Regions from separate parts of the Homo sapiens genome. Here all the other regions are linked to region 6. Evidence: promoter capture Hi-C in 16 types of primary human blood cells and fetal thymus (Javierre and others, 2016). All regions are on one chromosome and are shown on one strand. Each heading gives the region's core, a stretch centred on a gene start or on the middle of the fragment in contact. The rest is flanking DNA. Distances are from core to core; before and after follow the strand shown. Region 1 has its middle 18 kb from the start of CAVIN4. Region 2 holds the start of ALDOB (aldolase, fructose-bisphosphate B). Region 3 overlaps BAAT (bile acid-CoA:amino acid N-acyltransferase). Region 4 has its middle 120 kb from the start of CAVIN4. Region 5 overlaps PLPPR1 (phospholipid phosphatase related 1). Region 6 holds the start of NIPSNAP3A (nipsnap homolog 3A). Region 7 overlaps MRPL50 (mitochondrial ribosomal protein L50).

Evidence for each region. Contacts are between HindIII fragments. The CHiCAGO score rates a contact against its expected background, and 5 or more counts as called.
Region 1: a fragment that was not itself captured here is called in contact with the fragment with the promoter of NIPSNAP3A in region 6 in 3 of 17 cell types (total CD8 T cells, non-activated CD4 T cells and naive CD4 T cells); the score reaches 6.7 in total CD8 T cells.
Region 2: a contact is called between the fragment with the promoter of ALDOB here and the fragment with the promoter of NIPSNAP3A in region 6, in 4 of 17 cell types (naive CD8 T cells, naive B cells, naive CD4 T cells and 1 more). The highest score is 11.7, in naive CD8 T cells.
Region 3: a fragment that was not itself captured here is called in contact with the fragment with the promoter of NIPSNAP3A in region 6 in 5 of 17 cell types (total CD4 T cells, non-activated CD4 T cells, naive CD8 T cells and 2 more); the score reaches 11.0 in total CD4 T cells.
Region 4: a contact is called between a fragment that was not itself captured here and the fragment with the promoter of NIPSNAP3A in region 6, in 1 of 17 cell types (neutrophils). The highest score is 5.1, in neutrophils.
Region 5: a contact is called between a fragment that was not itself captured here and the fragment with the promoter of NIPSNAP3A in region 6, in 1 of 17 cell types (total CD4 T cells). The highest score is 7.5, in total CD4 T cells.
Region 7: a fragment that was not itself captured here is called in contact with the fragment with the promoter of NIPSNAP3A in region 6 in 16 of 17 cell types (total CD4 T cells, non-activated CD4 T cells, total CD8 T cells and 13 more); the score reaches 37.0 in total CD4 T cells.

The regions. Positions count from the first base shown.
Region 1 is chr9:100,594,696-100,598,118 of GRCh38, forward strand. No RefSeq gene overlaps it. Among named protein-coding and RNA genes, the nearest start is that of CAVIN4, 18 kb to the left of the region's middle. The HindIII fragment of the contact is 747 bases long and covers 1,591-2,337 here.
Region 2 is chr9:101,433,830-101,437,326 of GRCh38, forward strand. It overlaps ALDOB (aldolase, fructose-bisphosphate B), which reads right to left and starts at 1,945. Exons shown (of 9, transcript NM_000035.4): 1 at 1,880-1,945. The HindIII fragment of the contact is 11,270 bases long and covers 1,865-3,497 here.
Region 3 is chr9:101,379,913-101,383,332 of GRCh38, forward strand. The region is part of intron 1 of BAAT (bile acid-CoA:amino acid N-acyltransferase); the gene reads right to left. Among named protein-coding and RNA genes, the nearest start is that of BAAT, 3.4 kb to the right of the region's middle. The HindIII fragment of the contact is 1,306 bases long and covers 598-1,903 here.
Region 4 is chr9:100,700,464-100,703,798 of GRCh38, forward strand. No RefSeq gene overlaps it. Among named protein-coding and RNA genes, the nearest start is that of CAVIN4, 120 kb to the left of the region's middle. The HindIII fragment of the contact is 1,146 bases long and covers 1,323-2,468 here.
Region 5 is chr9:101,311,855-101,315,133 of GRCh38, forward strand. It overlaps PLPPR1 (phospholipid phosphatase related 1), which reads left to right. Exons shown (of 8, transcript NM_207299.2): 6 at 944-1,120. Among named protein-coding and RNA genes, the nearest start is that of BAAT, 72 kb to the right of the region's middle. The HindIII fragment of the contact is 2,018 bases long and covers 549-2,566 here.
Region 6 is chr9:104,746,181-104,749,478 of GRCh38, forward strand. NIPSNAP3A (nipsnap homolog 3A) reads left to right here and starts at 1,503. Exons shown (of 6, transcript NM_015469.3): 1 at 1,503-1,672. The coding sequence starts at 1,613. It overlaps LOC107987105 (a long non-coding RNA gene), which reads right to left and starts at 1,459. Exons shown (of 5, transcript XR_007061705.1): 1 at 1,269-1,459. RefSeq lists a silencer at 1,397-1,486 and an enhancer at 1,907-2,066. The HindIII fragment of the contact is 7,745 bases long and covers 1-3,298 here.
Region 7 is chr9:101,395,044-101,398,614 of GRCh38, forward strand. MRPL50 (mitochondrial ribosomal protein L50) reads right to left here. Exons shown (of 2, transcript NM_019051.3): 1 at 3,458-3,571. The coding sequence starts at 3,549. Among named protein-coding and RNA genes, the nearest start is that of MRPL50, 1.8 kb to the right of the region's middle. RefSeq lists enhancers at 2,688-3,217, 3,218-3,571, 3,279-3,571. The HindIII fragment of the contact is 2,255 bases long and covers 1,195-3,449 here.

The sequences.
Region 1 (3,423 bases), core at 714-3,213, 4.2 Mb before region 6:
GGGGCTTGCTCTGTTGCCCAGGCTGGATTGCAATGGTGCAATCATAGCTCACTATAGCTTCCATCTCCTAAGCTCAAGTGATCCTCCCACCTCAGCCTCCCAAGTAGCTGGGACCGCTGGGACCACAGGCACATGCCCACCATGCCTGGCTATTTTTTTTTTCTTTATTTTTAATAGAGATGAGGTCCACTATGTTGCCCAGGCTGGTCTCACATTCCTGAGCTCAAGCAATCCTCCCTCCTTGGCCTCCCAAAGTGCTGAGATTACAGTCATGAACCACCACACCTGGCCCAAATATCTCTCTCTTTGTAAAGCCTTTTAAAATTGTGTGTGCATTCTCTCTGAGATTCTGTAAGTGCAAAGGACTTACTGTGTTTCTCATTAATAAGATAATAGGTATTTAATAAGTATCTACTGAATGAAAACAAATGAATGCCTCTTTGAACTATGGCCTCTTCTCTGAATATCTTTGAATTAGGATCATTTATTTGATGAGTATTTTTTTGAGCACCTCATGTAAGCCTGGCACTCTTCTGGGAGTAAAGTAGTGAACAGAGCCCTTGCTTTCAGAGATTCCAGAGAAAGACTAGTAACTAGCAAATATAGTTATGTTAGGTGGTGATAAGTGCTGTGAAGAAGAAGTCAGGTAAGGGGGCAGGGCATTATGAGTGGGGGTGGTGCAGGCTGCCACTATTTTAGAAAGGGTGTCTGGGAAGGCCTCTGGTAAGGTGACCAGAATGTTTGAATCTGATAGTCAATCATTCAGGTGTTTCTAGGAAGAGTTTCAGTTGTGTTCAGGAGACAGTGTGGTTGAAATGGGTGAGGTGGGAAATGTGGGAGCAGTGGGGTGTCACAGGCTGTTCTAAGGACTTTGGGTTTTACTCTGAATAAGAAGGGGACCCATGGGAACGTGTTAATAAGAACGACATGATCCAATTTATTGTATTTATACTCATTGAAAAAATCCAGCCATTGTGTTCATACAAAAAGCTAACTACAGTTCCTGCCTTAGTTTACACTGCAAAGGAAATCACCCAAACTCCCAAGAGTTTTCCATTCCATGTCCGCTCCCCAAGCCTCACTGCAGCTCAAGGCTGACATCTAGTGGATATTTTCATAATTGTTTATGCACAGGCAGTTTGGAACCTATCCACTGTTGATTAAGAATAGAGGGGGAGGTTTAACATAGAAAATGACAAACTGGATGATTAGTAGAATACTATAGTGGATTTGCCTCTGTTTTTCTTTGGCTCTTATTCAGGTAAATTTACATTTATCTAGCATATATTAGCATGTATTAATTAGAACTGGGTTCAGCTGCCAGAGATTAGAGCATCAAAATCATGGGTTGGTAAGGAGGAGAAAAAGTATCAGGTGGGATGAGCCAGGAGAAAGTGTCCTGGTTCTAGTGGTGGCCCTCAAAAGGTAGCTGTGGTTTGTTGTATGGTGTTAAGGGTGTGTGTATTCCAAACCTGTGCTTGCATCAGGTTGGCATTGATTTACAAAGGGAGTCTACTGCGAAGGGCATGGTGGAATGAAGTTGAAGGCAGCATGGAGATACTGAAAGTTGTGAAGTTGAGTGTTTCCAAAAGCTTAGGTGGGGTATTTCAATGTACAATCAAGAGCTTTAGCTTTATAACTGGAAAATTGGCTTGTGTCTGCCATTTACTGACTGTGAGAACTTGGGCAAATTATATTATCTGAACCCAGTTTCTAAATAGTACCCACCTAAAGGTGTTATATTAAGCCAGATATTTTATGGAAAGCACTTAGCAAACTTAGCATTTAGTAAGCAGTCAAAAATAGGTGTTATTGTTTAGAGGGACTACAAGTAGCCTCTAGAGATAGAGAAGGAGGCTATTGTAATAGTGGTATCTGCATTGCATTTTTTTTTTTGCCCCTAGCATTTAACATTAACAGAATTTAACTTGAAACCATTTTGTAGATGTATATGATCCATTTTATCGACTTTGATTGTGGGCAGTTGCATATTCTGCTTAACTAAGACATAGCATTTTTACTACACAGAGATCACAATCATCCAGTGGCTTTCATAACTTTTAGGAAAAAAAGGCTCAAATATGAGCTCTGCAAGATCTGGCTCCTGCGTGCCTAACTTCATCCTCATCTCTTATTCTTCCTCCTCAGTTTCTGCATTCCAGAGACTGGCCTCTCAGGTCCTCCAATGCCTTATCCCACCTGTCTTAGGACCTTTGCATAGGCAATTCCATTTGCCTGTCCACACTCTTCCCACTCCCCTCCCAACCAACTAAGAATACACCTAGTTAACTTCTATTCATCTTTCAGATTCCATTGAAAATGATACTTCTTCAGGAAAGCTTTCCCTGCCTCTACGTCACTCCCTGACAGGGAAAGCCTCCCCTGTTACACAATAAGAACACTTATTGTAGTTTAAAAATATATATTTAGGTGGTTATTCACTCAGCTAGATTGTAAACCTCTTGAGCACTGGCACCGTGTCTGCTCAGCCCATTGCTCTGTCCCTGCCATGGTGCCTCAGATAGAGTAGTCTGAAAAGGGAGGGATTTTATTTGAAAGTTAAAATGTAGAAATAGATAAAACACTTGGTGACCGAGTATGAGGGATGTAGTGGGTTCTATGGTGACAATCACATTCCCTCTAAGACTTGGCACTCATCCCTCCAGATGCTGGGAGTTTTGACGGCTGATGGCTCTCGCCCAAGTCTGTCTCCAGGAATTGCCCTCAGCAGAGAAAGCCACCTCACCCAAGGTCATGCCCCCTCCTGAGAGCAGCCCACATTGAGTGACGGGTTGACTGAGGGATATGTGTGTGGCTTCTGGCTTCAGCGTGGAACAGCTCTGAAGGACCTTCCTGGGTCCAGAGCTTGCCATAGCATTGGCTGAGGCCCCGGTTTAAACCTCACTAAGTGTTCAACTCCTTGTCTCTGTCCTTCATCCTTCAGCCCTCACAGGTGCTGTTCATGAGAGCATCACTCAATAAGCCACCTACAATATCTCTGAGTCTGTTTCCTAGGGAAGCCAGCCCACAGCTGGGCATGATGGAGAGGGAGGAGTCTAAGGTGGCTCCTGGATTTCTGGCTTGAGACAGCACATGATGTTATCCAGTGAGAAGAGGGACAAAGAAGAAAGTGTACAGAAGTTGAAGCAGGTTTGCTGGAAAAGATATGTTTTGGGGGTGCTAAGTCTGAGGTGCCTGTGGGATAGCCAGGAGTTTGAAGCTCAGAGGAAAGATCTAGACTAGAGGTACAGATTTGGGAGTCATCAGCAAGGCAAAAACAATGGCATTAAGGAGATCTTCACCCCATAAAAGTGTGGAGTGTGAAAAAAAAACAACTAACCAGGAAGCATGTGTGTGGGAGCCAACAGAAATGGGCAGGGGAAGGAAGACACACTTCTGGCAAATATAGTGATCAGAGAGTTT
Region 2 (3,497 bases), core at 695-3,194, 3.3 Mb before region 6:
CACAATCATGACTCACTGAAGCCTCGTCCTCCTGGGCTCAAGTGATCTTCCCACCTCAGACACCAAGCAGCTGAAACTACAGGCGCCTGCCACCATGCCCAGCTATTTTTTTTTTTATTTTTGGTATAAACAAAGTCTTGCTATGTTGCCCAGGCTTGTCTTGAACTCCTGAGTTCACGCGATCCTCCCACCTTGGCCTCGCAAAGTGCTGGGATTACAGGCATGAGCCACTGCACCCGGCCACATTTCATTTTATACATTCTTTATCACGCACTTTATTACATATGTGTAACAAGTAATATGTATATAAATCTGGAGGAAAGTTGTATTAACAACAGAAGGTAACCACAGAAAAACAGAGCTACAAATGACCTCAGAGATACCTGCGTCAACCCTGTCACTTTAGAGATGAGGAAACTAAAGCCAGAGAGACTATGTCTGATGTGCCTTCTAAGTTGTGATGTTCTAGGATTGCAAGTTACATCCTATTGGCTTATGACTTAGAATTCTATTTCTAATCCTTCAGCAAAATAGCAGGTAGAATCCTATGGTATGGTTCTTTCTGCCTTCCTTGAAGATGTTCTGTGAAAACATAATTATTTGTAACATGGATATTTAATTCCTGGAGAAATAGAAGGCAGCAGAAAGTTCATTTGCTTCTCTATGTACAAGACAAATGGATTTTTAAGGCAAATATGAGGAGGCTTATTTATTGATAGCCCATGATTTCTAGGCACTGCATGCAGCACTTTTGTACATGATGCTTAAAGCTGCCAATAGCTTCATTATCCACCCCAATGTCCCAGTGACAAGTGCAGTGGGATGATCTAGGGCAGTCCTAGGACAGCCTGATTTCCAGTGCCCTTTAACACACGCGGAGCAGCCCAGAACGAGTCCTGAATGGTGCTCTTTCCTCTAAACTTGGAATGAAGCCAAAGGACCTCTTAGATATTCAACATTTCCCCATTCCCTGCCCCAGTATCTCTGGCTCTAACCTGGGCCTGGGTGCTACCCAGATGTGCCTTAGCTAAAGTGATGAATAGCAGGGTAGCAGAGTTCAAGCTCTGGTGCATCCAAATTGTCTAATGGAGCCCTAGGTAACTATTTAAAGAGAAGTTATTTTTTAAAAAGGCAACATATTCTCACAATGCCTATTTTTCAGATAGTAGAGCAAATGTATCAAAATACACAACCTTTTGATTCCTACTATCTTAAGCTGTAGGGTCTTCACAGTGTCTGGGGCCAGCAGGAAATGTTCTAGAAAGTGTCAAACATGAAGGGTTTGGAAATTCATAATCAAATGATGACTATGCTCTGTGAAGTTTCCAACCCTGTTGCATTTCCTCATTTGAGCAGTGGGTGAAGGCGAAGGGCAAAATACTCCAAGGGTTTGTTTCTGTGACAAAGAAACTTCAGTGTCGGTACCAGTAGGTGTGGGAAGAGAATGTAGAAAATGACATAAGGCAGTAGATATGTAAATAAATCACTAAAATAAGTAGTTGTTATGAAAAGAGAGTTGAGAGTTGAAATGAACAGGAATCTCAAAAACTGATTAGAACCTAACGATAGGAGTGTTCAAGTTGTTTTTCCTAGATCAGAGACTCACAAGGGCCTCATTCAGGTAACACAAGTAACTGGCAATCAATCTTGGGCATTTTGCCACCTCTCAAAAAGTCAGGAAAGGTGTGAATGAGCATTTATACTTAGAGAGAGGAAAACAAGCATTTCCCTCCAAGCAGAGCCATCATGTTTTCAGCCACCATCAAGTTTTTCCCGAAAACAAAGGCAAACCAATCTTCCCTTCTATAAGCTTAGTAGTATTATTAACCCCTTATTCACTGGTGCTGTCCAGGTATACAAAGGAAGCTTTTTTACTTACAGTTTGGGAGAGAAGAGTCCTCCTAGATATCAAAAGCTGTGGGTGAGGCAGCAGCTGCCAAATAAGACAGATCTTTGGTAGCACACAATTTTTATAGACTTCTCATCATGTTTTTTTTTTCCAATATTTGCCCTCCCCTTTCTACCTTGACCTAGTAGGGAGGTGTTTATTCAACACCTCTGATTGGCTCATAAACAACCAGTCCTTAAAATCATGCCCATATACTCCTTATGCTCATAGAATGTTAAAGCTGCAAGGAATGTCTTTAGACCGTGGAGTTCCTAATCCAGACCCTCCATTTCACAGATGAGGAAACTAAGGCAAGGAAGATAAGGAGGTTCCCTTAAGTCATACAGCTAGTCAATGATGGAGCTCTAGGGTCCATTAAATGATACTAGGAAGAATGTTAGTGTAGCTGTAACACTTACAAAACACATGAACTTGGTGACGGGTTTTTGGTTTTGTTTTTTACTTGTCTGAGCCGTTATTTTCTTCTCTGTAAAGTGGGATCTCAATTTCACAGGAGCATTAAGTGAGTTGTATAGTGTCTGTACGCAGTAGGCATTCAAGAATTATTATTTCCAAATTAGGTAATCAATGCTATATTTTCATTATTTATCTTCAGTATATCATTAGTAGTCAATTCCAACAATTTATTCTATAATTTATAGTTAAATTTAAATAATCTTTCAATAAAAGAAATTGATTCTGAATCCTTGAATTTCCCATGTGTGAATTTTGTCCAAATTGGAAATAAAATTCAAAACATTCTGTTTTTAAAAATCATTGTCTCTCCCATCTTCTCCAGTCCTCCAAAACCTAGCTGGGCTTTCTGATGTATTTAATGCCAGAAATCATTGTTTTGTATTCCCATTCTCTTTTAACCTTTGTACTTTTGTCTTCAAATTTGGTTAAAAACTAGAATTAAAGTGATTGAACTAAGCCATCAACACCCCTAAATATGGTACTGTCTGGGTATGGGTTCATTCTGCAGGGCTTTTTCCTAAGTATGAAACCCAAATTTAATTCCAGAAAAGGTAAATAAAAATATTATATGCTTCCAGAGGCAAATGATGAATGAGGCAAATAAATGAGGGAAATCTAAAAGTGATGGAATGACCGTAATTACAAAAAAGGGTAAATTCTCATGAACATGTTCCTCTGGAATAATTCATAAAATGGAAAACAAAACTAAGATGCTTGATTGTGCAGAGTGTAACACCAGAATTTATGGATGAAAAGGTGAAATGTCAACAAAATGAAGGAAAAAATAAACGGAACTAGGTGATCTAAAAAGAGTTTTGGTTTAGTTTTGGTTGTTTTTCCTAGATCAGAGACTCACAAGGGCCTCATTCAGGTAACACAAGTAACTGGCAATCAATCTTGGGCATTTTGCCACCTCTCAAAAAGCCAGGAAAGGTGTGAATGAGCATTTATACTTAGAGAGAGGAAAACAAGCATTTCCCTCCAAGCAGAGCCATCATGTTTTCAGCCACCATCAAGTTTTTCCTGAAAACAAAGGCTTCTGAGAACAGTAAGTATTCATCACTGAATGTGAATATTGAAGGAAATTGAAGTATTTGAAACACAATATTGAGGCTCATTTGGCTAGGGAAGT
Region 3 (3,420 bases), core at 1-2,500, 3.4 Mb before region 6:
AAATCATGGTACTCCAAAGACTAGAGATGATTCAAGAAAGCCTATGCATTTTTTCTCATCTGAAATCCCACTGGGCCTGATCTGTTTCCCATTGCCAGTGCACTGCTGCTAAAGCTGTACAATATCAAGCACCCTTCCTCTAAACTCAAAGACCATTGAAGAAGAGGACAGTGTGTGAGATTCTAAAAGCCCAATTAGAAAGCTGGAGTGTGGAGGTTATAGCAACTCCATCTTGAATTCTAATCTGCCAGTTGACATCTGATTAATCCCACTTCTAGGAATGCCTTTAAGATTTCTGCCTTATCTACTATCTCTTGTATAAGAGCACCTACCATAAATCCTACCCTTAGGCAAATTCCTACATATTCCTGCTGAAGCATGTATATCCTTTCCCTATGGTATATCAACCCTGGGTCTGGGGAGTAACAGTGAGGGGATCCTTTGTCTCACAGCTGCCTGAGACACAGCTTCTGTTTGTAAGCCCCTATTAAATGTTTCTCTCTGAGAAACTGTTTTGTCACTCTCTTTGTTCAGTGTCTCAGCTCCCTTGGCCTTTGGGGGTAGGTTTGCACAGACCTGCTCACTTACCACAGAGCAAGCTTACTCACAGCATGGTGGCTGGGTTGGAAGGGCAAGCAACACAAGAGAGAAAAAGCTAGGTAGAAGCTGTATCCTTTTTATATCCTAGCACTGGAAATCACATAGCATAATCTCTGCCATTTAATAGCAGCCACAAGCTCCCATCAAAATTCAAGTGGAGAAAATGTTGATACCTATTAACAGTAGGAGATATGTCAATCACATTGTAAAATTTTTTTAAGTGGATGAAACGTGTATGTGTATTTGCTTTTTATTTTTTAAGATGGAGTCTTGCTCTGTCGCCCAGGCTGGAGTGCAGTGGTGCAATCTTGGCTCACTGCAATCTCCACTTCCCAGTTCAAGTGATTCTCCTGCCTCAGCCTCCCGAGTAGCTGGGATTACAGGCACCCACCACCATGCCTGGCCAATTTTTTTGTGTTTTTTTAGTAGAGATGGGGTTTCAGCATGTTGGTCAGGCTGGTCTCAAACTCCTGACCTCAAATGATCCGCCTGCCTCAGCCTCCCAAAGTGCTGGGATTACAGGCATGAGCCACCGCACCTGGCTGTGTGTGTGTATTTGTATGTGTATTTGTGTATACATTTTTGGGAAATGCAATCTGCCACAAGAGGAAAGGAGGAATAAAGGAGCAAATAATAAATGGGATGAATGGAAATGGGAGTTTAAACCCACACATATCAATAATTACGTTAAATACAAACAGATCAAACACTCCAATTAGAAGACACAGGCCAGGCGTGGTGACTCATGCCTGTAATCCTAGCACTTTGGGAGGCTGAGGTATGAGGACCGGTTGATCCCAGGAGGTTGAGACCAGCCTGGGCAACATAGTGAGATCCCATCTCTACAAAAAAAAAGTAAAAATTAGCTGGGTGTGGTGGGGCAAACTTGTAGTCCCAGCTGCTTGAGAGGCTGAGGCAGAAGAATTGCTTGAGCCCAAGAGGTCAAGGATGCAGTGAGCTGTGATCATGCCACTGGGTGAAAGAGCTGACTCCACCTTGGGTGAAAGAGCTGAAATCCTATCTCTAAAATAAATACATACATAAAAATAAAAAAGAAGACAGATTGTCAAACTAATTGAAAAAGCAAGTGGTTATTTTTCAGAAACACATTGTCAAAAAAAGACAGATTGAAAGTAAAAGAAAATATATGCAACAGTGTTTGTGTTGCATATATGTGTATATATAGATGAGAGATGAGACAGACACAGACATAAATACATGCTGACAAGAATGAGCCTACAGAGAGAGAAGTCCTGAGAATGATAATTCAGTGGTGAGTAAACATTGAATATGTTTCCTGAGAAGCTTAAAAATAAGTGATACTATAGCTTCCAAGTACCGTATTTCATTTGTTTTCTTGTAATCAAGAAATTGAGTACTTAAGATCATACAGAAATACATGAGAGTCAGAAATGGAATCTACATTTCCAACTCTTAGTCAAATTGATTAGTACTTCAAAAAGAATTTATCAAGAGTCTACATGTCATAGTCACTGACAGATAAGATGCAGTTCCTACTCTAAATAAGCTTAAGGTATAGTATTTCTTCTACATATTGTTACAGTAGGTAGCTAGTCATGCATGAGTGGGGCAGGAGAGGGTTGCCCCCACCCACCAGAATGTCAGGTGACTATCAGGTGATGGTCACTCTGCTTCTCTAAAATAACAATTGGTCACAGCCAGCACCAGGGAGAGGCAGTTTCTCAACTGATAAAAACACCTGAAATTGATAATTGGCAGCTTTCAGGAACTGGGCGAATGAGCTCAAACATGCACATTAAGAGTCAAAATGGCAGAGTATGACCTTCCAGGGGCATTCCACCAGAATTTGAAAGAAAGCCTCAGATAAGCATGCATAAAACTCCAGTAAACACACTGTGCATGCCCACATCCCAAGCACAAGCAGGGCACCATGCATGTGGGTGGCTCCCCATAACCCTTAAGGGAAGGATGAAGGGAAAGGGGTGCAAGATGCCAGAAGTAGGCCAGCATATAAAATCCTAGGTTCAAGGATGAACGAGGCACTTGACCTCCAAGATGCCTGCTTGGGTCTCTCCCAAGTGTGTTTTCCTTTCTTTCCTGTTCTAAAGCTTTTTAATAAACTTCTGCTCCTGCTCTGAAACTTGCCTTGGTCTCTTTTACTGCCTTATGCCCCTCAGTTGAATTCTTTCTTTCGAGGAGGCAAGAAATGAGATTGCTGCAGACCCATACAGATTTGCCACCAGTAACTCAGATATTCACCACCCCTAACAATATTATCCATTCAATTTATTTCTATACAAATATCACATGCATCAACCAGCGTGCCCAAACAGAAATAAGTCAATTAGAAAGTCATTAACTTTAGCTCAAACTTATACTTGCTTTTTTTGGTATTTTTTAACATTACATTTCACTACCAGAAAGCATTCCTGAATTGCATAAATAGGTATAACATATATTCAAAGCTTCAAGAAATATTTTCACAGAATCTAATTCTAACATGGCATTAGTCTTACATTAAAAGAAAATTACCCTTCAAACAAAATATAAATAGGACCACAGTACAGTTTCCCAGAATAGGAGGGCTTATTCTATAAAATTCTAGGCAATAGTCTTTTAAAAGAGGGAGAAATATTGATGGGGATGGGGAAGACAGAATAAAGAAATTTTAACAAATGACTTCTGATAGCCTTTCATTTTCCTCAGAAATATAAATTTCAGCTCAATATCATCATAATAGCAAGTCCCTACTGACATCCTTTCTAAGCAAATCAAAATGAAAAGACACACTTATCTGAGCACTCTGGGCAACTCTACAGCTGAGATTATGAAATGAAC
Region 4 (3,335 bases), core at 646-3,145, 4.0 Mb before region 6:
GCAAACCACCATGGCACATGTATACCTATGTAACAAACCTGGACGTTCTGCACGTGTACCCCAGAACTTAAAGTATAATAATTAAAAAAAAAAAGACCTGGACTTTAAGGTCAAATAGATGTGGATTTAAATCTAGCTCCCTGATCTGCAGATGCTTATTTGTGAAATTAATATAAGTCCTATTTTTCAGAGTTGTTATGAAGATACAATAAAAAAGGTATCTAAAAAAAATTGGTTTCCTCCTAAGAAGTAAATCTTCATGGCCCTCTATATTTAACACACCTCTACATTGTTTAAACAGCAGAGGGCGCCCTATTGACAGCAAACTTACACCCAACAGCGGGGACCAAATGGTCTCAGGGGTGTGTGTACCCTTAATCTACCTCTGCATATACCTTCAGTGAACTCAGAGTGGAATCTGGCTCCGCAGGTCAGGGTAGGAGACAAGGTAAAATTAGAGAGCTGTGGAGGAGGGGTGAAACAGTGTGGGGTCATGGTGAATGAAGCCCATGGACTTAGGGCACATGATTGCAGATTCAAATTCCAGCATTGCTTCTTACTAGCTCTGTGTCCTTGAGTTATTTGTCCTCCCTTCAGTTTCCTTATTAATACAGTGGTGATAGATACTTGTTTGTAAAGCCCTTGGCCCAATGCCTGGCCTATGCGAATTACCCAATAAATATTAACTTAAAAAAAAAAAAGCAAGCAAGTAAACACTCTCAGGTTCTGACTAGGAGAAGATAGAAGCAGAAAATGAGCAGGGAGCCTATTCGCCCACAAGCCTGGAATGACTCATTCTGGAAAATGTTACACAGACTAAGGATTGATATATATGCTCATTTACTGATTTTAAACAATCCTTTATTGGTTGCAAATAGGTTTTGCTTATTTTATAATTGTTTTCCATTTATTTGGGAGGTGCTGGTACTTTTTCACACCAAAATGATTTGACAGTGTAAAATTCTAAAATAGAAGTCTGAAATCATACTATGAAATAATTCTTTTTTTTTCAGGGAGTAATTGGATATGACCAAGAAAAACAGCTAATTTAAAGAAAAGTGATGTAAACTATTGGGACATCTTTCTAAACCTCGCTTCAGATTTTGGGGTTTGAAGATGCAAAGGAAATGGCTCCTCGTCATTCTTCAATTTGAATGATGGGGACCTCCCTTGACATAGTTGATAGAATTTCAGAGCAGGAAGTGTCCTTAAGGGTCTCACACTTTAATAAGTACCCTTACCCACCCCTTCCGCCCCCCACACTCCCCACCCAATTAAATAAATATCTCTTGGTGTGAGGCTAGGTTATCAGCACTGTTACAAGCTTCTCATGCAATTCTTATATGCAACGGTACTGTGAACCTTTGATCTATGCCCATCATTTTACAGCTGGGGAAAGTACTTTTTGCTAGTGGGGAAGATATTTGCCTATCCTCCAAGCAGCCTTCAAAATGATGGTCTTAAAACAGAAATTTAGCAGATTAAAAGCCCTCAATGCCCTCTCTGCTCTCCCATCTCTCTCCAGCTTTCAGGACAAAGTTCAGGACTTCCAGTTAAATCACAATTCCTTTCAGTATTTGCCTCAGTTTTTCTATTCCCCTTACCTCACTTCCTACACCCTTCTCTCTAGTCAGGCCCAACTGCTTGCAGTTCTGGAATGTGGGGTGGCGCTGCCCAGTGTCATATCTTAACAAATGCCTTTCCTTCCTCCTGCTAGGCTGTCTTTATCTCTTTCTTCATTTTCAAAATGCAGCTCAAGCTGAGACATCCAAGTAGTGAGGGAAAGAGGGAGCATTAGTGGTTGATATCCTGTGTCAAAACATCGTGGATTTTTTTTTTTTTAAAGACTGGGAAAGTTCCTCGAGATTCTCTAAGTTCAAGCTCAGACGCTTTCAGGGCTAGGCTGGTATCGTAAATGTGTGAAGGAAAACCGGATATGAGACAAAAAGGTGACAGGACCCTGGCCATCTGGAGAGCAGGTGTCCCATTTAAAGGTGATTAAATTCAACTTTTTGAGAAGCACTGAACGTTCAGCCCAGGAGCTACCAATTTGCCACCCCTCCAATCACCCTGGTTTACAGAGAAACTGAGAGCCCATGTGAGTCAGCTGAGGACTTGGTTGTATACAGCAACGGGAGAGCCCAGGCCTTCTGAATCCAGGTTCAATCTTCTTCATAGCATGCAATAAACCTTTGGCACATTTTCCTTCTCAATTTTATTGCATTTATTCCACATAATAATAAAGACCAACATTTATACAATGGTATACAATTAGTAAAAAAGAGCCCTCGCTTTATTTTAAAAACTGCAGATCAGGAAGGTGCTATAGAAACATGTATATTACTTCCTGTTGGACTTCTTGTCTACAGAGGCAGAAGGCAACCTTCATTAGGTCTGCCTGGAAGCCGGTCTCAGCTCCAGTGATATTCTAGTCTGAGACCATGTAGGGGGCAAGTGAATCCTTGCCAAGCTTCTCTCCCCACTCACAGTTACTGTGCAATGAAATCTTATCTCTGATGTCTGATTTATGGATTACCCTCTCTAGGCTGCCTGGATGGATTTTATCCCTTAAGGATTATTAAAAATAAAAACATCTTGCCGGGCGCGGTGGCTCACGCCTATAATCCCAGCACTTTGGGAGGCCGAGGCGGGCGGATCACGAGGTCAGGAGATTGAGACCATCCTGGCTAACACGGTGAAACCCCGTCTCTACTAAAAATACAAAAACAATTCTCCGGGCGTGGTGGTGGGCGCCTGTAGTCCCAGCTACTCGGGAGGCGGAGGCAGGAGAATGGTGTGAACCCGGGAGACGGAGCTTGCAGTGAGCTGAGATCACGCCACTGCACTCCAGCCTGGGCGACAGAGCTACATCCGTCTCAAAAATAAATAAATAAATAAATACAAACATCTTACCTAGCCTTATTTTCTAGAAGAAAGAGGTTTGTTCAACCAGACAAAAGTATACACTGAAATGTCAGTGTTATCCTCCTATGTGACCGAGACGGAGGCTGAACATTTTCTCTGGCTTGGTGGATCGCTCCTGTACTGGCTGGGTACCTAAAGCATCCCCTTTGGGAGAGAGGAAAGGCTTTGCTCTCACACGTGGACACCCTGGGCTCATTGGTCTGCTTCAGGGGTCACGGTCCAAACGAAGGTGTGGAGACTACGTGGATCTGCTCTTGGCTTTTCTGAAAGAAGCTGCTCTCAATTCCCAGTTTCTATTTACCTCAAGAGACAACTATACAAATAGCTATGTTGGCTTCTTTGCTAAAGGATTCACTGTTGTAGACAGAGGAGAGTCTTACATACATCATGCCATCAGCAGGGGTGGGAAG
Region 5 (3,279 bases), core at 308-2,807, 3.4 Mb before region 6:
ATAGACCAATGGTGCCCTCTAGTGGTGTTTTGTAACTACTACCAAAGGTTAGCTAAAAAAGTGTACTTACATGAAAAAGGCATGGCTTCCTAACTCTAAACCACCAGGGACACATTTGCTAACTGAACCTGTAAAACGTCAGAGTCTTACCCAGCACCTCACAACAAACTAATAACAGCCGCCTACATCTCAGGTGTCATAACGTGTATCATCTTTTACTTAGCTCAGGTCTTCTTGACCTTTTGTATCTTGTGGAACACACAGAAAATTTTAATATTTTAAGAAACAGTGGAGTAAATGAATGAATAAAGCTGATCACAGCTGTCCTGAGGAATGTATGAGTCAATTTACTAGCACAGCTGAAACCTATTTATGTGATGCAGTTGTTGGGAGGTTCTAATTCAGCCTATCAACTAACTCATCAGTCAACACTTTGTTGGTATTAATCACCTGAAGGTGTGACAAAGCAACTAGGAACTTTTGGGGACACAAAAAATAAAATGTACGGTCACTTACAGTCACTCTCCTACCTGGTCTTCTCCACCAAAAGCTTCATTCCCATAGAAGGTTTATTTGGTATCTCAGACTCTCATATGGATTTCTTATACCCCAAATGATATTTAAACTTGTCACATAAAAACTGCATGTTCTGAATCTAATCGTTAATGCGTTCTTTGTGTCACTAATAACTTCTGTTGACATGTCCACTAGATTACAAAAGACTGAAGAATGTACATCTGTTCATTGTTCTTGCTGCACTGATTTCCTACCTAAATAATTTATTAAATATCTTAATGGAGTTGTTCAAGGAATACTAGTTAGTGTGGTTGCTTTGACACAAGCCCCTGCTTGTGTATGCTGGTGTATGTACCTGCTTGCTTGCATGTGTACTCATAGCACAAGGCAGCTGCCTGGTCACTCCCTGGCCTCTGTCCTATTCCAGATGTATATTACAAGCACAATCAAGACGAAGAGCAGTCGACTGGCCAAGCCGGTGCTGTGCCTCGGAACTCTCTGCACAGCCTTCCTGACAGGCCTCAACCGGGTCTCTGAGTATCGGAACCACTGCTCGGACGTGATTGCTGGTTTCATCCTGGGCACTGCAGTGGCCCTGTTTCTGGTAGGTTGACTTCCCTCTTTTTACCTTTTCCCCCTCTTCTACTCTCTGAAAAACTGTGAGTCAGGTTTCCCAGACTTCACCATCTGTGTTCCTTTCGTCCCAACCTTGTGAATTACAATTATTCTCCAAGTATTATACATGCTTTTGCTACAAAAATGATTTCAAAACACTCTTTCCTTTCAGAAACTGGATTGCCAAATTCCTTCTGGGTGGCAGGGAGAGAATTGCCCCTAGAAGTACAGCTGGCTCTACCCCTTTCAACACTGGGCTTGGGACTGGGGCCAAGCAGACTAATGATAAATTGGCACACCTTCAAACCAATCTTCTCTAAGTATTTGTTCTCAGCATATTGGGGGCAAAAGCTAAGTGTTCCTTGAGGGAAGAATAGAGAATGAAGAGCACTGGTAGAAGCAAGCAGCCTCTTCTCCAGCATCCCAAGAAACTCAACTCTAATTCCAAAGTTGCATCTCCTACTCGGAAATTTTAAAAACCCTGCAGATGATCACACCCGCCCTTTTTAGTGGGCCTCTGTTACTATTGGAACATGCCTCTTGGGAATCTTACTTCCGCTAAACTGGCTTCTCAACCACCTATCTTCCTGGAGAAGAGTTTTGGTTAATACATTTTTCTTGTATTTCTGATTATGTTTTAGTTCCCCAAATAGATGGAGGTCTGGCCACCTGCTCACCTAGGAAATCCCTTAAATTGAGTTGGAGTTGATAAAAAGAGGTTAATTTTTATTCTTTTTGCCTTCTCTTTCACGGTTGTATTGAAGTATAATAGGTATACAATAAATGACACATCAAGTATACAATTTGATCAATTTTGGCATACAACTTTCTCACCCTTCCTTTTCCCTTATCCCCAGGCAACTGGTGATCTTCTGTCATTCTATATTAGTTTGCCTTTTCTACGATTTCATATTAATTGAATCATAATGTATTTTTTCAGGTATCTTTCACCTAGCATAATTATTTTGAGATTCATCTATGTTGTAGAATGTATCCATAATTCCTTTTTATTGCTGTGTAGTATTCCATTGCATGGTCACACCTCAGAGATGCAGATTTCTATTATCTTCAAGGACTTAAAACAGGCCCAGAAAAATTTATGATGAATCATCAGGCCTGGAGACTTATACTGTGCATGAAATGAATCCCCTAACAATGTTCAGGAAGCCTCCCCAAGGAGAAAGAAGCCATCACAGTCTTGTAGGACCTCCCTCCTCCTATTCTGCCCTCTCTGGTCCAAGATCCATTTGGATTGGCATCACACATAGCTGGATTTCAGTCATAGGACTTAACACACTTCCTTTTCCTAGCCCCTCTTCCTTCCCTCCCCAATATGCAAAATACACACATGCCTCTCCCAGCCTCTAACTTGGTTTTCCAACTTGTAAAAAATCTAAGATACAGACAATGCTCACATTCAGAACATTGATTGGGAAGCTTCTTTCTAATTCAAAATGACAGGCATATCTCAGAGATAATGCAGCTTTGGTTCCAGACCATTGCAACAGTGAATATCACAGTAAAGCTAGGCACACAATTTTTTGGTTTCCCAGTGCATATAAAAAGTTATGTTTACATTATTCTGTAGTCTATTAAGTGTGCAATAGCATTATGTCTAAAAAAAAAAAAACCAATGCAGTTACCTTAATTTAAAAGCACTTTATGGCTTTAAAAAAGTGTTGACGCAGACACAAAGTGAGCATGTGCTGTTGAAAAAATGGTGCCAATAGACTTGCTGGACAGTGTTGTCAAAAAGCTTCAATTTAAAAAAAAAAAAAATATCTGCAACATGCAATAAAGTGAAGAGAAATAAAACAAAAATGTGCCAGTATTTTGAATGGATCCAGGCATTCTTCCTATAGTGAAAGATGAAAAACTAAAATGCAAATACTCTGGATGAAGTTGCAGGAAAAGCAGTGCTGAAGTCATCATAAAATCTTGATATCTCATTAGGAACTTTCCTGAGGAACGCCTTTTAAAAACATTTTATGGATACATAGAAGTTACACATGTTTCGGGGGTATGTGTGATATTTTGATACAAGCATACAATGTATAATGATCAAATCTGGGTAACTGGGATATCCATCACCTCAAATACTGTTACTTTGTGTTAAGAACATTCCAAATCTATTCCATTTATTTTGAA
Region 6 (3,298 bases), core at 253-2,752:
TGTGCTTACAGTGCTTTTAACATGTTTTTCTCACTCCAAAATATATTTTTAATGTAAACATCAATAAACGCAGGAAGGAAAGTGTATTTTGAGGGAGTGGTATGAAGAAACCTAAATCCTAAATATCCAAGTCAATAGCTAGAATCCTGACCACTTTTAGAATTCCACTAGCACCTTTATTCGTATCTTACTTTATTTTTCTTTATATTATTTGACAATCCCTGATATATTTACTCTTCCTTTTTTTATCTGTTTCCTCCATCCTGGATGTTCCAAGAGGACGGGACTTTGAATTTTGCTCAATTCTGTACCCCAGTTTCTGGAAAAGTGCCTGGAACATGGAAGGAATTTAGTAAATATCTGTTGAATAAGTAAATGGATTGGCAATTACAGGGTTTAAAAAAAAAGGTCTAAGAAAATAATTTACTCATATAGATCCAGTCCTGATACAAATGATTTTTTTAGTCTTGCATGGTTACAAATAGATGTCTCTCTTCTAGAAAAACTGAGGCAACCCTTCCGAAATAACTAATTTTAAAAAGTCTCCCTTCCTTTGAACAGACAATTCCAAAGCTCTTCCACAAGGCACAACCAATACAACCCAGGTCATGGCCCTGCAATCCCTCCCTAGTCCTCATGATGTAAGCAATATTACATTAATGTTTACAATAATGTAATTATTAGCAAGAATAATGTAAACATTAATATAGATTACTGTAAATTAATAGTGTAATTAATTACTGTAAATTAACATAAGCATTATTAGATGCAGGAAGACAAGTGAATTTGGGGGCAGTGGCATCTATGAGACATAAATCCTCATCTGCCACAGAAGGAAGTCAACACATACTATCCATAACTGAAAATGCAATAAACAGCAGAAAACACTACTTACTTAAAAATACAGAAACAAGCATTAAATGAAACAGCTTGAAATGTTGAAGGTGGTTACTCTGGGAACCAACACTCCCGGACTGGGAGGACTAGACCAGGGTATGTTTAACTTTGACTTTTTCATTTCAGGCTCGATGCTGCCATTTCTCTGAGCTCGTGGAAAATTTAATCTAAATCTTAATTAGGAGCCTTCTAAGATGGAGAACACATTCATTGCAGAGAGGTCAGGCTCAAATACACGTCTATCACAACATCTAAAACTTAACTCGGAAAAAACCTCCACGATTTTAAATACAAAGCACTGCACATGCACGCACTCAACACCTCTCCTTCTTTCCCCATGGTCAACACACCCACAACCCCTGCACATTTACCAATCTACACAACTGAGCACTGGAGCGAATGAGGTGAGTGAGGGCCCAGAAAGTTGAAGCAGGAACGATCCGAGCCTTCAGTTAATCCTAACGTCACCTCTAACGTTTGGGGTAAGAACGTTTCAGGAAACCAAGGGGGAACCAACGCTCAGCACAGCAGAGAAAGACACCAAGCTACGGGACCCGCCGCGCCTCCCGCGCCGGGGTGGAGCTGACCCCGCCGAGCCCCGCCCCAGCCTGCGTCTGCCAATGATCCAGGAGCCGCTCCTTTCCACTCGGGAAACCTTCAGAGGAGTCTCAGAAAGGACACGGCTGGCTGCTTTTCTCAGCGCCGAAGCCGCGCCATGCTCGTCCTCAGAAGCGCCCTGACTCGGGCGCTGGCCTCACGGACGCTGGCGCCTCAGGTACCGGCCACGGGGGTACCCAAGCCTTCACCCGACGGGAGGGGAGGGGCGGGGCGGGGAGTGTTCCGGGTACGTGCGAGCAATGCGCATGCGCTCTCCGCCACGCGCGCCCAGACCTGGGGCCCCGGTGAGGTTCTAGCGTGAGCCCCGGAACCCCAAGACAGGGGTACCCGGAACGCGCGTGAGGAGGAGGCCGCTGCTAGGGGAATACCCCCAGCCGGGGTCGTCTCGCGGGCAGTGGTGGTCAGAAGGCTTTTCTAGCCTGGATGCCACACCCACCGGGACACTCCCATGGCGCCGGCTGTTTCGTTTTTGCTGCCCAGCTATGTCGCGGCTGCGGCCCAGCGAGCGCTCCCATGTTGTCACCTGGCGCTGTGGAGCCGCGGGTGGAGTCGTAGCTTTCCAAGCCACCGCCCTCTCTAGACATCAGGTTGAAGGAGGGAATTGTCAACCAGCCGCTTGCCACGGAACCGGCCTCCCCCTTTTAAATGAAGCACACAACTTCCGAGCATTTCGCGGAGACCCTTGAAGAGGAGGCCCAGGGTCCCGGTGGGGCTGGACCCTGCCCGCCACCCGCGCTTCGTGTGGTCGCTCCCCCAACCAGGCGGGACCGGAGCCTCCTATCAAACCGGACGATGACAGACAGACTCTTTTAACCTTAGATGAGAAATGGACAAAATGGAGCTTGTGATTCTGCCCTAACTTTCGGGAGTGGCCTATTCTGTGGCTTCAACCTAGAAATTTCTTTTCCTTTTGATGTTTAGGACTTTACTCCTTTCTGAAGGGGCAGGATGGGAAGGGGATTAACCTGTCCTAGAGACAGACTGAGGAGCACTAAAGAAGAGCAGCTCATGTCCATTCACCCCGGGTTAACAATGCAGTTTTTACCCTAATGATTCTCCAGTGGGGCAGGGCCAGGAATGACGTCCTTATGGCATGATTCCAAACTTTAAGTTTTTAGAAATGTCCATCAGTTGTTCTCTTTTAAGTGAAGTGGAGGTCGTTGCTGGTGGGAATGATCCCTAACTTGGAGATAAGGGAGGATGGACGACTCATGATTTCTGCCCTAGCAGCTAAAAGTCATCCCTGCAACAAAATTCTTAACTCCCATCCGGCTCCCCCACCATACCCGGCTCCCCTGCAGTCTTCCTTCTCTGGCACCACCTGTCCACATCTCTCTCCCTCTCTCACTGTAGGTTCCCTACTGTATATTAATACTGCCCAAAATTGTAAAAATGTGTACCTTTGATCAACTATTTTATCCTCCAAATACAAATTCCTCGAATCAACCTGAAATCCATTTGTCACAAATGCCCCATTGGCCTATCTCCTGATATATTTTATTATAATAATTTTGAAATTATGGATACTAGGCACTTGCTTCTTGACCAACATTGTTACTAGAGTTTGGTTTAAAAGCACAAAAAGAGTGTCCACAAAAGGCAGGGGCAGCTGCAGCTGTTTTTGTTGGTAGGCTTAGTCATTTGAGCAATAAGAATATAAGTCACACACGAATAGAATTAACTCTAGATAATTATCATTAAGCCTTATCATACACAGTTACATAATTTTGTATTTTGTAAACAAAAATATGTCGGAGCAAAAGCCTACTGCTTTCAGACAGAC
Region 7 (3,571 bases), core at 1,072-3,571, 3.4 Mb before region 6:
AACCAGAATATACAAGGAACCCAAACAACTCAGTAACAACAACAAAAAAAACCTGATTTAAAAATAGCAAAAGATCTGAATACATATTTCTCAAAGAAGATATACAATGACCAACAGGTATATAAAAAAAATGATCTCTAATCATCAGGGAAATGCAACTCAATAACACAATGAGGTATTATCTCACCTGAGTTAAAATGACTATTATTTAAAAGACAAAAAATAACAAATGCTGGCAAGGATGTAAAGGGGAATACCAGTACACTGTTGGTGGGAATGTAAATTAGTACAACTGCTATGGAGAAAAGCATGGAAATTTCCCAAAGAAATTAAAAATAAAATTACCATATGATCTGGCAATCCCACTGCTGGGTATACATCCAAAAGAAAGTTAATCAGTCTAACAGAGATATCTGTACTCCATGTTTATTACAGCACTATTCACAATAGCCAAGATATGGAATCAAACTAAGTTTCTACCAATGGATGAATGGATATTAAAAAAACCGTACATATACTCAATGGAATATTATTCAGCCATTAAAAAAGGATGAAATCCTGTCATTTGCAGTAACATGGATGAAACTGGAGGACACTCTTTAGTGAAATAAGCCAGGTGCAGAAAGACAGATATCGCATGTTCTCGCTCCTATGTGTGAACCAAAAAAAAAAAAAAGACCTCATGGAGGTAGTAATAAATTGATGGTTACCAGAGGCTGGGAAGGGTAGTGAGGAGGTAAGGTATGAAGACAGATTGGTTAGAAATACAGTTAAAAGGAGTAATACAGTTAGAGAAGAGGACTACAGCTAAAAAGAGTAAGTTCTAGTGTTTGATTTCACAATTGGGTGACTATAGTTAGTAGTAATTTATTTGTATTTCAAAATAGCTAGAAGTGAAGATTTAGAATGTTCCCAAAACAAAGAGATAAATAACGTGATGGATACGTCAACTATTCAGATTTGGCTATTACACATTGTATGCTTGCATCAAAATATCACATGTACCCCATAAATATCTACAACTATTATGCATCCATAAACATTAAAAAAAAATTACAAATAAACATCACCTCATACCCATTAGGATGGTCATTACCAAAAAGACAAGTGTGGTGAGGACATGGAAAAAACGGCACCCTTATATGCTGCTGGTGGGAATGAATATTGGCATAGCCATTATAAAAAACAGTATTAAGCTTCCTCAAAAGTTATAAACAGAACTATCCTAACTATCCTAAGATCTAGCAATCTTACTACTCGGTATATATCCAAAGGAAATGAAAGCAGTATCTCAAAGAGACATCTGCACTCTCATCTTCATTGCAGCATGTGTGTATACATGTAAATGTATACATGTATACACACACATACACAATATTTAAGGCTGAATAAAATGCCATAAGTGTGTCTATATGTATATGTGTACCTATGTATGAATATATGTATATATTATGTGCTTGCATATATACACACACAAAAAATGGCATTTTATTCAGCCTTAAAAAAGGATATTTGTAACACATGGATGAACCTGGAAAATATTATGCTAAGAGAAATAAGCCAGACAGAGTAATACCACATGATCTCACTTATATGTAGTATCTAAAAAGTCAAATTAGGCCGGGTTTAGTGGCTCACGCCTGTAATCCCAGCACTTTGGGAGGCTGAGGTAGGTGGATCATGAGGTCAAGAGATCGAGACCATTCTGGCCAACATGGAGAAACCCTGTCTCTACTAAAAATAAAAAAATTAGCCGGGCGTGGTGGCGGGCACCTGTAGTCCCAGCTACTCGGGAGGCTGAGGCAGGAGAATCGCTTGAACCTGGGAGGCGGAGGTTGCAGTGAGCCAAGATAGCGCCACTGCACTCCAGCCTGGAGACAGAGTGAGACTCCATCTCCAACACAAACAAAAAAAAAGTCAAATTCATAGAAACAGAGAGTAGGATGGTGGCTACCAGGGGTGGCGGAAATGAAGAGACGTTGGACAAAGGTAAAATTTAAATTATGTAGAATGAATAAGTTCCAGAGATCTAATGTACACCATGGTGACGATCATTAATAATACTGTACTGTATACTTGAAATCTTCTGAGAGTAAATCTTAAGTGTTTTCACCACACACACAAAAATTCTAACTGGCCAGGTGTGGTGGCTCACCCCTGGAATCCCAGCAATTTGGGAGGCCAAGGTGGGAAAATTACTTGAGTCCAGGAGTTCAAGACCAGCCTGTGCAACATAGTGAGAACTCCTTTCTCTAAAACAAAACAAAACAGAAAGTATGTGAAGAGATGAATATGATAATTATCTTGACTAATAATCAACATCAAGTTGTATATCTTAAATATATAAAATTTTTAAAATAGTAAAGAAAATATAATCATCATTCTCAGTAATCTATTTCCTCTAGTTTTCTTCATAATTTACCACTTTCTGAAATTACATTACACATTTGTTCATTTCTTCCTCCATTAGAACATATGCCCTACGAGAACAAAAATTTGGTCTGTTTTAGTAACCACTGTATTCTTACAACACCTAAGATATAGCCTGGCATATAGTAAACAGCCTAAAAAATATTTGTTGAGTGAATGAATAAAACAAACTTGGAAGAGATTTGAGAGATAATAACAAATATTGACCAAAGAAGAGGGAAAGCTAATATCTGAACTGATGAAAAAGATCTTTCCTAATTGTAGTGGTTTTTGTTTTAAACCTAAGAGAGCATACATTGCTCCCTAGGGTTCCTACCATACGTTTTGATTTCCTAAACACTATCTAAGTCAAATTAGATTTACCTTCAAACAATTACACATGGTGCAGCCGTGCAGCAGAAAAAGCAGTAGATGGGGAGTTAGGAGACATATGTTCTAGATCCAGCTTTGCAATTAACTTGCTTTGTGACTTTGGGAAAATCACTTCCCTCCTGTGGGCCTGTTTCCTCATATGTTGGAGTACCTCGAGGATGAGAATGGATTTTGTTTTTCCTGCTGTATCCTAGGCGCTTAGAGTAATGCTGGCCCTAAGAAATCTGTTGAATGACTGAATGAATGAACAAACAAAAGGAGGAGGCAGTACTTCATTACTGAACCTTGCTTGTGAAGAAACACAGCCGGCAAATGAGTTTAGTTTACCAAGCGCTTTCATGTGTTTGCAGACAACACACTCGGTGTCTCGCACACGAGGTTAATCCTGCTTGCTTAATAAATAAATGAATGAGTGAAGTGAAAAGGAAAGGGGGTGGTATTTCCGTTATAAAATGAGAAAACTAAGGCCGAGAGTGGAAGAGACTGGGTCCCACCACTCAATGAGTGCTTCTCAACTCGGGACCCTAACCGGACCTCCTTGTCCTTGCTCTGATCAGGCGCGGGACCACGATGGCGTAACACTCTATTTTGAATTCGTCCCTAATCCTCCTTAACTTTCCTTGAACATGACCCACCGTCCACCATAAAGCTTTACCTGAATCGAGACCAAAATTCTCTACATGGTGTCCCTGAGACTGTCCACATGAAGACTCTTCTGGTAATGCCCGACACAGATCGCGCCGCCATCTTCGATGAGATCCACGGGCCT